Linked DNA regions of Homo sapiens: region 1 is linked to region 2. The links are contacts of gene promoters, found by promoter capture Hi-C in human tissues and cell types (Jung and others, 2019). All regions are on one chromosome and are shown on one strand. Each heading gives the region's core, a stretch centred on a gene start or on the middle of the fragment in contact. The rest is flanking DNA. Distances are from core to core; before and after follow the strand shown. Region 1 overlaps KAT6B (lysine acetyltransferase 6B). Region 2 holds the start of AP3M1 (adaptor related protein complex 3 subunit mu 1).

The links. The method cuts DNA at HindIII sites, captures the fragments that hold promoters and counts their contacts. A contact is called where the count stands out against the background at its distance.
Region 1: a contact is called between a fragment that was not itself captured here and the fragment with the promoter of AP3M1 in region 2, in 1 of the 25 tissues and cell types used here (psoas muscle).

The regions. Positions count from the first base shown.
Region 1 is chr10:74,880,410-74,887,824 of GRCh38, reverse strand. The region is part of intron 3 of KAT6B (lysine acetyltransferase 6B); the gene reads right to left. Among named protein-coding and RNA genes, the nearest start is that of KAT6B, 58 kb to the right of the region's middle. The HindIII fragment of the contact is 7,129 bases long and covers 2,188-7,415 here.
Region 2 is chr10:74,148,035-74,155,390 of GRCh38, reverse strand. It overlaps AP3M1 (adaptor related protein complex 3 subunit mu 1), which reads left to right and starts at 4,563. Exons shown (of 9, transcript NM_012095.6): 1 at 4,563-4,636. It overlaps ADK (adenosine kinase), which reads right to left and starts at 4,170. Exons shown (of 11, transcript NM_006721.4): 1 at 4,048-4,170. The coding sequence starts at 4,112. RefSeq lists enhancers at 3,820-3,999, 4,410-4,639. The HindIII fragment of the contact is 9,762 bases long and covers 1-7,356 here.

The DNA.
Region 1 (7,415 bases), core at 4,503-7,002, 730 kb before region 2:
ATGTTGCCCAGGCTGGTCTCAAACTCCTAGGCTCAAGCAATCCTCCTGGCTTAGCCTCCCAAAGTCTTGAGATTATGGGCAGGAGCCACTGCACTTGGCACTAGTTTCCTTTCTTAACATCAAAGCCAGAAGCCTAACCCATTCCAGGCTAAATGTGCCAGCCTGGTCAGCCTGACATCATGGCTCAAAACCAGAGACCAGGCTGGGCATGGTGGCTCACACTTGTAATCTCAGCACTTTGGGAGGCTGAGGCAGGTGGATCACCTGAGGTCAGGAGTTCAGGACCAGCCTGGCCAACATGGTAAAACCCCATCTCTACTAAAAATACAAAAATTAGCTGGGCATGGTGGCATGTGCCTGTAATCTCAGCTACTCAGGAGGCTGAGGCAGAATTGCTTGAACCCAGGAGGCAGAGGTTGCAGTGAGCCAAGATTGCGCCACTACACTCCAGCCTGAGCAACAGAGCAAGACTCCATCTCAAAAACAAAAAACAGAGACGAAAGCCCTGCCACACAGAGAGGCAAGCATCCCACTATCCATGGCTCAGTCCCTGGGCCAGGAGTGTCTGGACACCCTATGGAAAGACTGTCACCCCACCCCTCTCTCCTGTAGTCTCAGATGTAACATACTGCCTGCAGAACTGCATCCCTGACCTGGTAGAAACCAACCCCAGGGCATTGGGTAACTCTGATGACTAGATCCTGGTCTGACATGCCCAAATGCCAAGGTGTAGTCCCTGCGAGACAGTCCCCTGTCCCCAGAGAGACGGTGGAGAAAGGCTGGCTCTTCTCCCTTCACACCTGCACTATGAGATCAGGTCTTTGATTCCTCTGCATTCTGCTCCCCACTGCTGACATGGTCTCCCTTACAAGATATGCCATAACCTACTGCCCAGCCTGTCCAAACCTCACGTATCAGGCCCTCAGGACTCACCCAACTACCAGAAAGAGGGCCCAGGACAGTTAGGTTCCGAGTTCCCTGACTCCAAGCAGGGTGAAGTGAGCTCTGGTTCCTGGGTCAGTGTAATACACTGGGTTATGGATGGGTCAGAGGTTGGTGGGAACACATACCTTCCCTCTCTGCGATACATGAATTATTTAGTCAAGAACATAGCACTTAATGGGCAGGTAAGGTGGAAGTACAGAGTAGGAGCAGATGCAGCCTATGTTTCTGTGGCTTGTCCTTTGCCCCTGGGTTTCCACCTAAGAGCATCAGCCAACTATAACACCAAGCTCAGGTGGGGTCCTCCCAGATGTGGGGCACGGGGGAGCGGAGAGGAAGCTGAATCTTTGCTGTGGCTTTTAAATACTCTGGCTTATCTACTCATCACTATACTTACGTTTAAAGGAATATTTATATACATTAGATACTCCTGGTTGGTGAGTCAAACTCGGCATTTTCAAGAATTCCTCCTCACCTGGGATGCAGGTGGGGGTGAAGAAGGCTCTGTGTCCAGGTGTCCCTGCCTCCAGCTTCCCAATCTTTGGAAAGTCCATCTCCCAGAACTGTGATGGCCTGAGAGGCCTGCTCCAACACACATGAAACTCAGCAGAACATCGCAGGGCATACCTGGGAAAATTCCAATCCCACCTCAACCTTCTCTCAGACAAAATTAATCTTGCCTGTCAGAGCCAAATGTAACCTAATGTTCCCCTGATGTAAACAGCTCCCCCTTCTCCTGTTACAGCCCCAACCATCGTGCTTGCACAAACTGAAATCCTACTGTTTACAGCCTGATGATAACCCAGTTGGCATTCTGTGCTCTAAGCTACTCCCTTAGAAAGAGCTTCCCCTGGCCGGGCGCAGTGGCTCACACCTGTAATCCCAGGACATTGGGAGGCCAAGGTGGGAGGATCACAAGGTCAAGAGATCAAGACCATCCTGGCCAACATGGTGAAACCCTGTCTCCACTAAAAATACAAAAAATTAGCTGGATGTGGTGGCGTGCACCTGTAGTCCCAGCTACTCGGGAGGCTGAGGCAGTAGAATCGCTTGAACCTGGGAGGCAGAGGTTGCAGTGAGCTGAGATCGTGCCACTGCACTCCAGCCTGGTGACAGAGCAAGACTCCATCTCAAAAAAAAAAAAAAAAGAACTTCTCCTTGACCTTTCAAGGCCTCCCCAGCAGGACTCAAAATAGGCAGCCTCACCTAAGTCCCACTCACCTCTGAGTCCTCCACAATATTTACTACACTTCTTTATCCTAGATAACATTTTCTAAATATTTGTTCAATTAATTATATTGGAATTATTTCTGGAATTAATTTTTGCCTTCCCAAAGTTCATATCTAGCATATTTAAGTTTGATAAACTTGCATCTTTATTAAAGAAATCTCTCATTGGCCTAATAGCAATATTATCCAATATCAACTTCAGATTTAACCAGCCTCAACTGGTTAAGAGCTTCAGATGGCATTATACTAAATGGAGAGTTTCCTCAGATTCTAAATCTGTGCTGTCCAACACAATAACCACTAATCACATGCGACTATATAAATTTACATTTTCTCCTTTGGGAGGCTGAGGCCTGGAGTCCAGACCAGCTTGGGCAACATAGAGAGACCCCATATCTACAAAATTTTTTTTTTTTAATTAGCCAGGTATGGTGGTACATGCCTGTAATCCCAGCTACTCAGAAGGCTAAGGCAGGAGAATCACTTGAGCCCAGGAGGTCGAGGCTGCAGTGAACTATGATTGCACCACTGCACTCCGGCCTGGGTAACAGAGCAAGACCTTGTCTCTAAATAAATAAATAAATTAATTAATTAATTAATTTACATTTTCAAGAAAATTAAAATTTTAGTTTCTCAGTCTCAGCCACATTTTAAGTGCTCAATAGCCACATGTGGCTGGTGGTTACCAGACCATATTGGATGGTGCAGATAGAGAAAATTTCCATCATCAAAGAAGGTTCTTTAGGATAGCGCTGCTCCAAATGCATTAAAAATCTTGAAAACTGGCTGGGCACTGTAGCTCACGCCTGTAATCCCAGCATTTTGGGAGGCTGAAGATGGCAGATCATTTGAGGTCAGGAATTCGAGACCAGCCTGACCAACATGGTGAAACCTGTCTCTACTAAAAATACAAAAAATCAGCCGGGCATGGTGGCCCGCACCTGTAATCCCAGCTACCTGGGAGGCTGAGGCAGAAGAATCACTTGAAACCAGGAAGCAGGTGTTGCAGTGAGCCCAGATCACGCCACTGCACTCCAGCCTGGGCAACAGAGTGAAACTCCGTCTCCAAAAAAAAAATCTTGAAAACCCAAAGAATCCTTAGCTTACAGCTAGTATCAGATCTTCAAGGTACCATAATTAAATTTAAAAACACACTGCTCCTTTAATTAAAACAACATAAGGAAACACTCTCACTGATAAAGTAGGGCTTTTATAATAATAGATTTGTCTCATCACAATGAAAAATTTAAACACAGCCTAAGTCTCATCTATCTTCGGTTGCCAAAGCTAATAGCCTATGCAGAGGGCAATGCATTCTTAGAGTTGCATGAATCCTTTCTCCTGACAGATAAAATTTCTGGTTAATAGTCACTAAGGAAAGTAATTTTAACATAACCCTTTATGTCCTGGGCTTGACTAGAGCATACAAACAACACCTAGAAAATTTTCAACCCAGGGATTTCAAAAGCTATGCATACAAAACCAAAAACACCTAAGTCTTCTATGAGTTCAGAATTTGATGCTAGGTGGAAGGTGTCTATGAATATGTGAAGTGAGTATATATGTTGGAATAAAGGAACTGTCTAAGTAGGCTGTGTCTTTTTCTCTCCCATCTCCATGAAATGCCAGTGTCTCTTAGCAGATAAAATACAAACCATAAGGGAGTTAGAGAAAAGAAGTCTTCTATTCCTTTTATAGACTCCTAGGAGCACTGAGACTCATTCAACAGCACATAAGTATGAGTCCTGGAAAGCACAGCTTCAGCACCTCAATAGAAAAGTTTTTCCCCTCACAGTGAAGCAATGAGAGGGCTAAGAAGCACATACTTTTTAAAAATCAAAACAGAATTGGATGAGGATGGGCAGAAGGGTAGGCCTGGGGGCAGAGGACCAGGTCATCCAACAGTCTCCAGGTATAAAGTCTCAATTCTATACATTCATAATGTGTATTTGTGATGTTCCCTCTGGGCTGGCCACCACACTGTATAATCATAAAGTGAGCTTTAATTACCCAAGACCATTCACTAGCTCTTATGAAATGTGTTCTACCTGAAGGACTGCTCAAGAGGGTCACAAATGGCTCATAATTTTTTTCTGCTGGATCTTAAAGCCTACAACTTCCTACTAAAGGAAAGGTCAAAGGAAATACATCTGTAAAATACTGCCAGAGGGGAACAGGAGAAGTAGGGGGCAGCCAACAACTGGGACCTCGGTGATGCCAACCTTAACTGTCATTTCACCCTTTCCCCTTCAAACCATCCCATGGTCCTAAAACCTTTATAATCCTTTTATACTTGACACTATTGTCCCAGAAGAGCTGTTTGTCATCCTGAAATCAAACTGTATCTTCTCCTCTGGGAGCATGTACATTCTGTAATAAGACAGGTAATCCTCAGACAGCGGCAAGCAGAACCGTACTAGGCTCTGATACTGACCTTGACTTTACTGAAAAACGTTAAGTGGTAAAAATTTCATCAAGGTAAGGGAAGAACAAAGGAAGAAACTGTTTCCATGTTTTCCCTTCCATTTTACATGTGCATTATTTCAATCCCATAGCCAATTGTTTGTCATCTCTTTATAAACTTTCGGGAACTCAATAGAAAACAGTACATGAGTCACTCTCTCAAGAGCATACAAATGATGAGGAATACATTCCCATATATATATACTATTATTCACTGAAATTTTTACTTAGCTGTTTTTGATGAAGAAAGCCATATGGTCATGAAAAATACACTATAGGCAAGTTACTGATTCTGACAAAGCTTTCTTAAAATTCAGAAGAAACTATGTGAACCAAACAAACACGAACACATCAACCCTCAGAAAAGATGTTTAAAGAGCAATGCAAAATGTTTTAACTGGACTTTATCAGGCTTCTTAAATACTATAGAATTTCCTTACTGACACATTAGGGAAGAAATTAACTTTTAAAGACAATTGTTTAAGGTAAGCAATCTCACAAAATGTTTATCTAACAGAATCCAGCCATGCTGGCTACAGCATCTCTATTGACATACCTTTAAAAACCACAAATTATTAGGAAATAGGTCTGGAAAAACGTGGCCCATGTAGAAAAAGTCTTTAACAAAGAAAGGTTTATTTCCAAATTACATTAGTATTCACAAGGTGAAACAACTTATTATAGATGCACAGCATTAGTCTCATACACAATAATACCTTTACTAATAAGAGAATATGTCCAAATGTCACATTTCTTTTTTACAAAGTTTAATTACCAGAGGTGAGAACTGATAGGCACAGGAATGAGTTCCAGGGTATCAGATAAGAGGATGGCTGCAGAACGAAATTACTGTAAAATACTAACTAAAAGTCAAACATGCAAGAAAATATAAAATATGCATCAGACAGTTTTAGGATGAGGTTAAGGAAAAGAGTCAGTGAGCCAGATTAATACTAATAGCAAGAGGAAGAATAAGAGGAATCTCTGGTTGAGCAGGGAAGGGGAGACAGCAGGGAAAATCTTGAAGAAGGGGCAGAGCTTTCAGCTCTTAAGTGAAGTTAAAGTGGAAGATGGAGACTCCAGCAGCCCCAGCAGACACATCCACCTCAGGTGGAGGCGCAGCGGGAAGAGCAGGTTCCTTTTGACTGTATTCCCCCATCCCATGGCACCCACCAAGGGTGCTTTCTAGGTCAACCTCGGAAGGAAGCCTCTGGTGTCTAAAACTCCATCCCCAGCCAAGTGTGGTGGTTCACGCTGGTAATCCCAACACTTTGGGAGGCTGAGGCAGGAGGATCGCTTTGAGGCCAGGAGTTTGAGAAGAGCCTAGGCAACATAGCGAGACCCCAGCTCTATAAAATAATTTTAAAAATTAGCCAGGCACAGTGACATGAGACTGTAGTCCCAGTTACTTGGAAAACTGACACAGGAGGATCACTGGAGTCCAGGAGTTCAAAGTTACAGTGAACTACGATTACACCACTGCACTCCAGCCTGGGCAACACAGCGAAACCCCATCTCAATCAATCAATCTCCACCGCCATCTGTGTGCTGGTTAATGGCATCCTTGCAACACAGGGTTTAACACGAAAATTCTGCATGAGACAACATGCAATTGTTTTCAGTATAATCACTCAAAAAGTATCAATGAATGGTTTTAGATTCCTGTGTTTCAACAGAGGGTGGAGCACAGAAGGCATGGGGTGTTTGGAGATAGCCAGAAGCCAAAGGCAGGAGGCAAAGGGCAGTGAAATCACCACTACTGAGTGATGTACAGGGTACAGGCCAGCACCTTACTTTATACAGATTACCTCAGTGAAGCCTCACAACAACCTTATGGACGAGGTGAAAGGAGCCAACTGGGGACAACTCTGATCCTTATAACCCCCAAATCTTAGAAAAACGAGGCTGTCCAGTGAGAGTCCAACTATAAAACCAACAGGGCATGTTAGAGACACAGCCTCCTTAAGGAGGCTTAAAGATGGTTGGGCACAGTGGCTCACACCTATAATCCCAGCACTTTGGGAGGCCGAGGCAGGCGGATCCCCTGAGGTCAGGAGATGGAGACCAGCCTGACCAATATGGTGAAACCCCATCTCTACTAAAATGACAAAAATTAGCTGCACCTGTAGTCCCAGCTACTCCAGAGGCTGAGGTAGGATAATGGCTTGAACCTGGGAGGTGGAGGTTGCAGTGAGCCAAGACTGCACCACTGCACTCCAGCATGGAAGACAGAGTGAGAGTCCGTCTCAAAAAAAAAAAGAGAGAGTAAGATAAGGCCAGGAACAGTGGCTCACGCCTGTAATCCCAACACTTTGGGAGGCCAAGGCAGGAGGATTGCTTGAGCCCAGGAGTTCGAGACCAGCCTGGCCAACATGGTGAAACCCCGTCTCTACTAAAAATACAACAATTAGCTGGGCATGGTGGCGTGCGCCTGTAATCCCAGTTACTTGGGAGGCTGAGGCAGGAGAATTGCTTGAGCCTGGGAGGTGGAGGTTGCAGTGAGCCGAGATTGCGCCACTGCACTTCAGCCCAGGCGACAGACCAAAACTCCATCTCAAAAAAAAACATCAGTAAGACACACCTGAAGACCAGCAATTCCACTGCTAGGTATACAGCCAAGAGAAGTAAAAACGTGTCCACACAAAAATATGTACACAAATGTTCATAGTACTACTACTCATAATAGCCAGAAAGTAGAACCATCAATGTCTAATGAATGAATGAAATAAAATGTGGTATATCCATACAAAGAACTATTATTTGGCAGTTATAAAGAATGA
Region 2 (7,356 bases), core at 3,314-5,813:
CAGCCTCCTGTGTAGCTGGGACCACAGGCTTATGCCACCATGTCCAGCTAGTTTTTGTTTCGTTTTTTTTAAAGATTCGAGGGTCTCATTTTGTTGCCCAGACTGGTCTCGAACTTCTGGGTTCAAGCAAACCTCCCACCTTGGCCTCCCAAAGTGCTGGAATGTAGGTGTGAGCCACCATGCCCAGCTCCTAGGTTTAATTTTAGAACACAGGGTCCATAGTGAGGTAGGAGATAGAGGAAAATAATAAAAGGGGTCCATGGAAGTGAAACAGTTAGGAAGCAATATTTGAGAAAAGCTCAGCATTTGCTGATTAGAGAACTGTAGTTTGTTTCCTTTTTAGTACTATTAAAAGTCATGATCCTTAATAATCCTTAATTGCTAATGTCAGATGGAGTAATGATATGGGCTTTCAGGATTCAACGTTTCCTAACATCAACTTCAGAGTTTACAAATATTTGCCGTGATGAATAAGTAGAGCTGTGCCTAAAGAAAAGTAGGCAGAACTTGAGGCTGAAGGTAAAGAGACTGCTTAGGAAGTCAAAACAAAATCTAAGCAAAAGATAAAGTCTAAACGTAAGGTGTGGCAGCAGGAATGGAAAAGGAAAGACATTATAATGTGGATGTAAAATGAATCAAATATCTAGGTCTCAAACTTTGGAGTAAAGGAGGTTACTGGTGCCATTAACAGATGCAGGAAATATGGAAAAATGCACAGATTCAGGATAACAGATAATTTAGTTTGGTATATATGACTTCGAAATGTCAGAAAGTCACTCAGAAGCACATACTCAGCAGACAGTAAAAATTAAGGTCTGGGAAGGCAGGGCACGGTGGCTCACACCTGTAATCCCAACACTTTGGGAGGCTGAGGCAGGTGGATCGCTTGAGGTCAGAAGTTCAAGACCAGCCTAGCCAACATGGCAAAATCCCGTCTCTACTAAAAATACAAAAATTAGCCAGGCATAGTGGTGTACGCCTGTAATCCCAGCTACTTGGGAGGCGGAGGCAGCAGAATTGCTTGAACCCAGGAGGCAGAGGTTGCAGTGAGCCGAGATGGTGCCACTGCACTCCAACCTGTGCGCCAGAGTGAGACTCCAACTCAAAAATATATACAAAATTAAATTAAATTAAGATCTGAGAACTGAGAGGCACAGAGATAGAAAGGACACATGTGAGAGTGTCTAATACAAAGCCTGGACCCCATACATCTCTGCTTCAGTCAGACTATCTGCACTTCCCCAAGAGGCAGCTCTCTCCCAGTTCTGCCACCAAACAAACTTTCCTATAAGGCAGATACCCTACTTCACAGATACCCTACAGTCACAGATGACTGGTTAACTCCTAGTCATCTTTAAGAATACTCAGGTGTCATTTTCCCAAACCCCACTTATTTCCCACCAAGAGGATGGTACCTGTGCCTTACCTCTTTCTCTCTCTATATATATCCAGTTTTTAACACCATGTCTAAAATAGCATGTACTTGAAAGACAAACTGAAGGAAAAGACTTGGCACGTGCTCAACAAGCCTTGGAAGGCACTGTAGCCTCTTAAGAGGCGATCGCTAAAGAAATGAACTTGGATGAGATTTCCAAAGGAGAGAAAAGAAAACTAAGTTGTCTTAAATATAAGTGATCATCATGGAACACCTTCATCTAGGGAGCAGTTCCCAAAAATGTTTCTCCACTTCTTTCATCACAAAATAGCTCGTCTGTAACACAGGAATCATTGCTCCTACCTCATAGGTCACTGGGAGGGTTAAAAGAGATAACATATATAGAGCACATAGTATAATGTCTAGCACTCAATTAACGTTCCCTTCTTTCCCCTAATCCCACGTGAAAACATGTCAGAGCCTGATTCTTTCTTTATAAGCAACTGTTATATGCTGAAAAGCAACCGAGCCTAGAAAAATAATAGATATTTGAGAAAGGCAGACTAGTCTTGTCAGATGCTCCCTCTAGAACAGATTTCTCAACCTCAACACCGTTGACGTATTTGGCCAGATAATTCTTTGTTGTGGGGGTTGTCCTATGTAGCATGTTTAGCAGCACCCCTGAATTCCATCCACTAGGTGCCAATAGCTCTCCCTACCAAAAATATCTTTCTAGACCACGCCAAATGTCCCCTGGAGGGCAAAATTTCCCCTGGTGGAGAATTATTATCCCAGAGCTGACCAAATTCTCACAAATCCCTAAATCTAAATATTTTTCCTGACATCTACAAATATATCTCATTATTTGTTCCCACTGATGCTGCACATTAAATTATGCAAAGTCTTTATAATCCATTCTCCTTAACCAAAACCAGTAGCAATCCCCTGTCAAGCAAGTCATCATAAATTCAGTGTAAATACTCAATGCATTATCACACTTTGAGTCTGAAAGCAAATTAATATAATAAAAGTAATAATAGCCGATCCTAAAATGTCTCCCCACAAAATTAGAGATTTGTCCCAGTACTCAAGTGTCTAATCTTTTAACTTCATGTCTACAGGTGGCACTAAATTCATATTGTATAAAGTGAATTTTAGTTGCCTAAGGAATGCTCTCACCACAGCCTCACAAAGCACCAGGACTGCAGGTATAAGAAAACATGCTCAGCTAGTTCCTATTTCTGTTCCTGTACTAATTGTTTTATTTGGGCTTCAATATCTTCAATTGTAAAATAGGCATAATTCTTGCCTTCCTTTGATCACAGAACTGTCCAACAAGATAATAAATAGGAAAACACAGTGAAAATGGATCAGCATTATATATAATAATTTTTATTAAGGAAAAATCTAAGGAAATCTAAGGGTTATATGTTCAGTAGGATGGTAGGGAAAAGTTGCATCTGTCTTCCAGTTTGGCGAAGGAGGTGCCTTATAAGGAAATACTCTAATAAAGGGCAGAGTAGGGAAAGCACATGCCTTGAACTCAGGTAGGTCTGATTCAAAAGCCGTTGCTTTTTATTCTGCATATAGTTGGAATATTTAAAATAAAAATAGAATATCCTGAGGGTTTTTATTTTAAAGTTTATGTTCTTGGTATAAGGTAGGCACACTAACCCTTTGAGGGTAGTAGGAATACATTAAAGGAACTGGCAAGGATTTGTTCACCCTCCATTCAAAGCAGCATGAACACACCACCAGGCCCCTAAGTGTCCTTTTCTTTTCAATTGTGAGTGATTCCTTCCTTTGGAGGTGAAGAAGAGTGATACTGGAAGAAATGGGATATGTCCTGTTTAATCAGGAGTGTCCTAATAGTTTTAAATCAGTTTGATATGTCTATTTTAAGATGGAAAAAAAAATCGCTGCCTTTCAGCGAACATTTCCAAATCATCAAAGACTGCCTGCTTCACTTTATACTTATTAGGAAGGGATATTTTAACAAATGACTCTTCATAAGTAAAAGTTGCAACATCAATCACATGTGAGGCAGGTGTTAGGGGCAGCACTGTCCCCGTTGCTGCCAAAAAGTGTAAATAAAAAAGAGAAATCAACCTTTCCTATCCATTCATCCAAATGCTGCCCCTGCAAAGCATCGGAGGGGTCTGGGTCCCTGGTAGAGGGTCCTCAAAGGTACGGGCTTTCAGAATGTGCACGAAAAGGAAGGTCAACGTGCCCTTCCGCAACACTCTGAAAAATCCCCAAGAATTCTGACTTTGCCCCAGTGTACAGCAGTTGCCGAGCCTCTTTCCCGCCATCCCCCGGGAAGAGAAGGCGGCCGCCTACAGACGCTGCTCCGGTCCGACCCTCCGGGGTCGCACCAGCCCAGCCTGGGCTTGCTCGCAGGTGGCGCGGTCAGCCAGCTCGGTCCCCCTGCGGGCCACGACTGGCGAAGGGCTGCTGGAGCCGGAGCTGCACCAGACAGGCGGGGACTCAGCCAAACGGAGAGAACGTCTGGCAAGGGGTCGCGGCCAAGCGGGCAGCTGGGGGAGGTCCTGCGTGTTGGCCCCAAGCTGGCAGTGAGAGACACCACCCAGCGTCGGGGCCGTGCAACCCCACGTGGGCCCTGGCTTGCTTGCAGCGCCGTCACCCTCCTCCCCAAGTCCGGCAGCGCTCACCTCAGCGCTTGCGGCGCCTCCACCTTCAGCTTTTTGGGCTTCGGCTCCTCCTCAGCAGCTGCCATCTTCGCGCTCCCACCCCACTTTGGCTCTACAGCCCACCTCTGCCATCCACTCTCTGGTCCCGCCCCCTCTTCGCATCACCGCTTTCTCTTCTCCAAATCCCGCCCCTCCAGACTCCGCCCATTCTGTGCCGCTGTCATCCACAATCATTGGCTCTATCCGTCGGCACCAACAGCGAATGCCCCGCCCATTCCTGACCCCGCCTCCCCTACCATGAGGGACCCCAGACTGCGTTAGGCAGCAGATGACCGCCTGAATCTAGATGGAGAGAAACCCACCATTTTTCTAGGCCCTGGATTATGTAGAAGATTTAGATACTAAGCCTCAAGAGACGTCTTTCCTCTCATTTACGGTCTTCCTGCATATTTAAAATTTCTAATACGGTAGACAGAGTCGGTGTCTTTGAAGCTGTTAATCAGGCAATTTCCTGGGCACTCCAGCTGCGGGTCCTCGCGGCCTTCTCGGCTTCTCCAGCTTCGGTAGGAGAGGATCCGGCGCCGAATCACTGACTGGCACAGGTGTTGGGGTGAGTGTGAGGGGCGGGAAATCTGTGGACTGGGGACAGCTCCAAAACCCGGGAGTAGGCTGAATAGCTGGGGCCCCCGACTCCGATCTGGGCTCTAGGAGCGTCTTTGGTGCTGTTGGCCCGGGCCTCGCTTCCCCCCCACTCCCGGCCTTCCGGGCTTTCTCGCCAGCAAGGCCAGAAGGGAGCGGTCCACCTGCAGCCCAGTGTTCTCAGGCGCCTGAGCCCCGGAGGTCAAGCTTACTGGGTTCCCCCTCTATAGTGAGCTGGAGTACAGACGGCAGGAATCTCAGTCCCAGGTTTCTGCTTTGGAGGACAAAACCCCAAACGGACCTGAGCAGACGTCCTGTTAGCGGGTGGTGCCTGGAAGAGCCTGGGGTGAGGAATGCAGTGAGAAGGGTGTTGCAGTTCTTCAGGAGAGAGGTAACGGGGTTCTAAGCTGAGCAGGTGGCAGTGAGTGTGGAAGAGTGACGGGCGATGTGGCTGTTTGTATTTGGTAGATTTGTTTGAACCTGAAACTTACAGCCTTATGTGTGATTAAGAAGATGGTGCCAGTGACAGGAGGAGGTATTTTATGGAGTTTGAGTTTTATCGAATTTGAAACAGTGGTTTACATGGAGATTGTAGAAAGACTTTAAAAAAAATTATGAGAATTAAGCCCGAAAGACTTTCAAGGTGAGACCCAAAACAGATGAAGTTTCATATAAAAGGGTAAGAAGTATTTTTGTTTAGGAGAAAGTTATCAATGACATAAAATGCTGCAATGGTCAGAGGAGGAAGCTGAAATCAGAATAGGTCGTTGGATTTTATAATTAGAAAGTCATTGAGCTGTTTGAGAGAGATGCTTTAATAGTAACTGAGGAAAGACTGCAAGTGTAGACCAATCCTTCATCATTTGGGGCATGAAGCAAGATTATTGAGAGTGGCAAGGTGGGGGAAAGTTTGGGGTTTGTTTTAAAGAATACAAGATATCTATTTGGGGGCAGGAAGCAAGCAACTATTTGAAGATTCAAGAAAAAGTCTTGTCTCCCAGAAGAGAAGGAAAGGAATGGGATCAAGTTACAAGTGAAAGGATTAATTTGGGAAAGACAGAGGGACACTTTCAATTGACACTATAGGAGAAGTGAAGTGAATGAGGTTAATGAAGAATTATCTTAATTTACGAATCTTGGCCAGGCGCGGTGGCTCACGCCTGTAATCTCAGCACTTTGGCAGGCTGAAGCGGGCGGATCACAAAGTCAGGAGTTCGAGACCAACCTGGCCAACATAGTGAAACCCTGTCTCTACTAAAAATACAAAAATTAGCCAGGTGTGGTGGCACACGCCTGTAGTCCCAGCTACTTGGTAGGCTGAGGCAGGAGAATCCCTTGAACCCGGGAGGCGGAAGTTGCAGTAAGCTGAGACCTCACCACTGCACTCCACCCTGAGCGACAGAGCGAGACTCTGCCTCGAAAAAAAAAAAAAAAAAAAAAAAAAAAAAAAAAAAAAAACCTTACGTATCTTTAGGAAAGCTCTCTTTGCAACAAGATTATATTTTCTTACTTAATCTTATGATTTTTATTTCTAACCATTTAATATAATATACGGCCAGGCACGGTAGGGCTCATGCCTGTAATCCCAGCACTTTGAGAGGCTGAGGTGGGTGGATCACGAGGTCAAGAGATCGAGACCATCCTGGCAAATATGGAGAAACCCCGTCACTACTAAAAATATAAAAATTATCTGGGCGTGGTGGCACGTGCCTGTAGTCCCAGCTACTCGGGAGGTTGAGGCAGGAGAATCGCTTGAACCCAGGAAGCGGAGGTTGTGGTAAGCTGAGATTGCGCCACTGCACTCCAGCCTGGCAATAGAGTAAGACTCCGTCTCAAAAAAAAAAAAAACAAACCAATATACTATGGGCAGATGGAGTGCGGTGGCTCACGCCTGTAATCCTAGCACTTTGGGTGGGTGAGGCGGGAAAATCACTTGAGGCCAGGAGCTGGAAATCAGCCTGGGCAACATAGCGAGACTCCATCTCTACAAAAAATTTAAACATTAGCCAGGCTTTGTGGCATGTGGTTGTAGTCCTAGCTACTCAGGAGGTAGAGGCAGAATGAGGCAGAAGGATCACTTGAGCCCAGGAGTTCAAAGTTACAGTGAGCTATGATTGGTCCACTGCACTTCAGCCTGGGCAACAAAACAAGACCCTATCTCTTAAAAAAAAATACATATACACATACGCTATGGGAGTTCTTTGCAGATTTAAATATTTTTAAGTAGCTCAGTACTGTGTCAATTCATGAGTAGCACATGGTATTTACAGAGAAGAGGACTTCTCTCTCCCTTTGGAAATGACCTCTCTCCCATTACACAGAGAAGGAGAGCCATCATCTGCCTGCAGTCAAGTATACAAACCTTCCCTTCAATCTGAAGAGTAGAAAGTGTTCCTTCTCCTTAGAGAAGGCAAACCCTTTGACCTAGTCTCTCAGTAGCATCCTCTCCTGCTATGTCAGGGTCCTCTTTCCGTTTTTCCCTCTCTCCTATGTCAGCTTTTCCCCCTCTATTCACACCTTTCCTTCAGCATTTGAATGTATTCTTCCTTCACTTTATGAACTGCTGCATTTATTTTCCTGTCTTTTCATCCTCTTCACAGCTAGACTTCTTGAATCTACTCTACATATCTCTATTTTTTTACACTTCTTGCTATTTATTTCCCAGCCCACTGCAATGTCTTATTTCTAGCA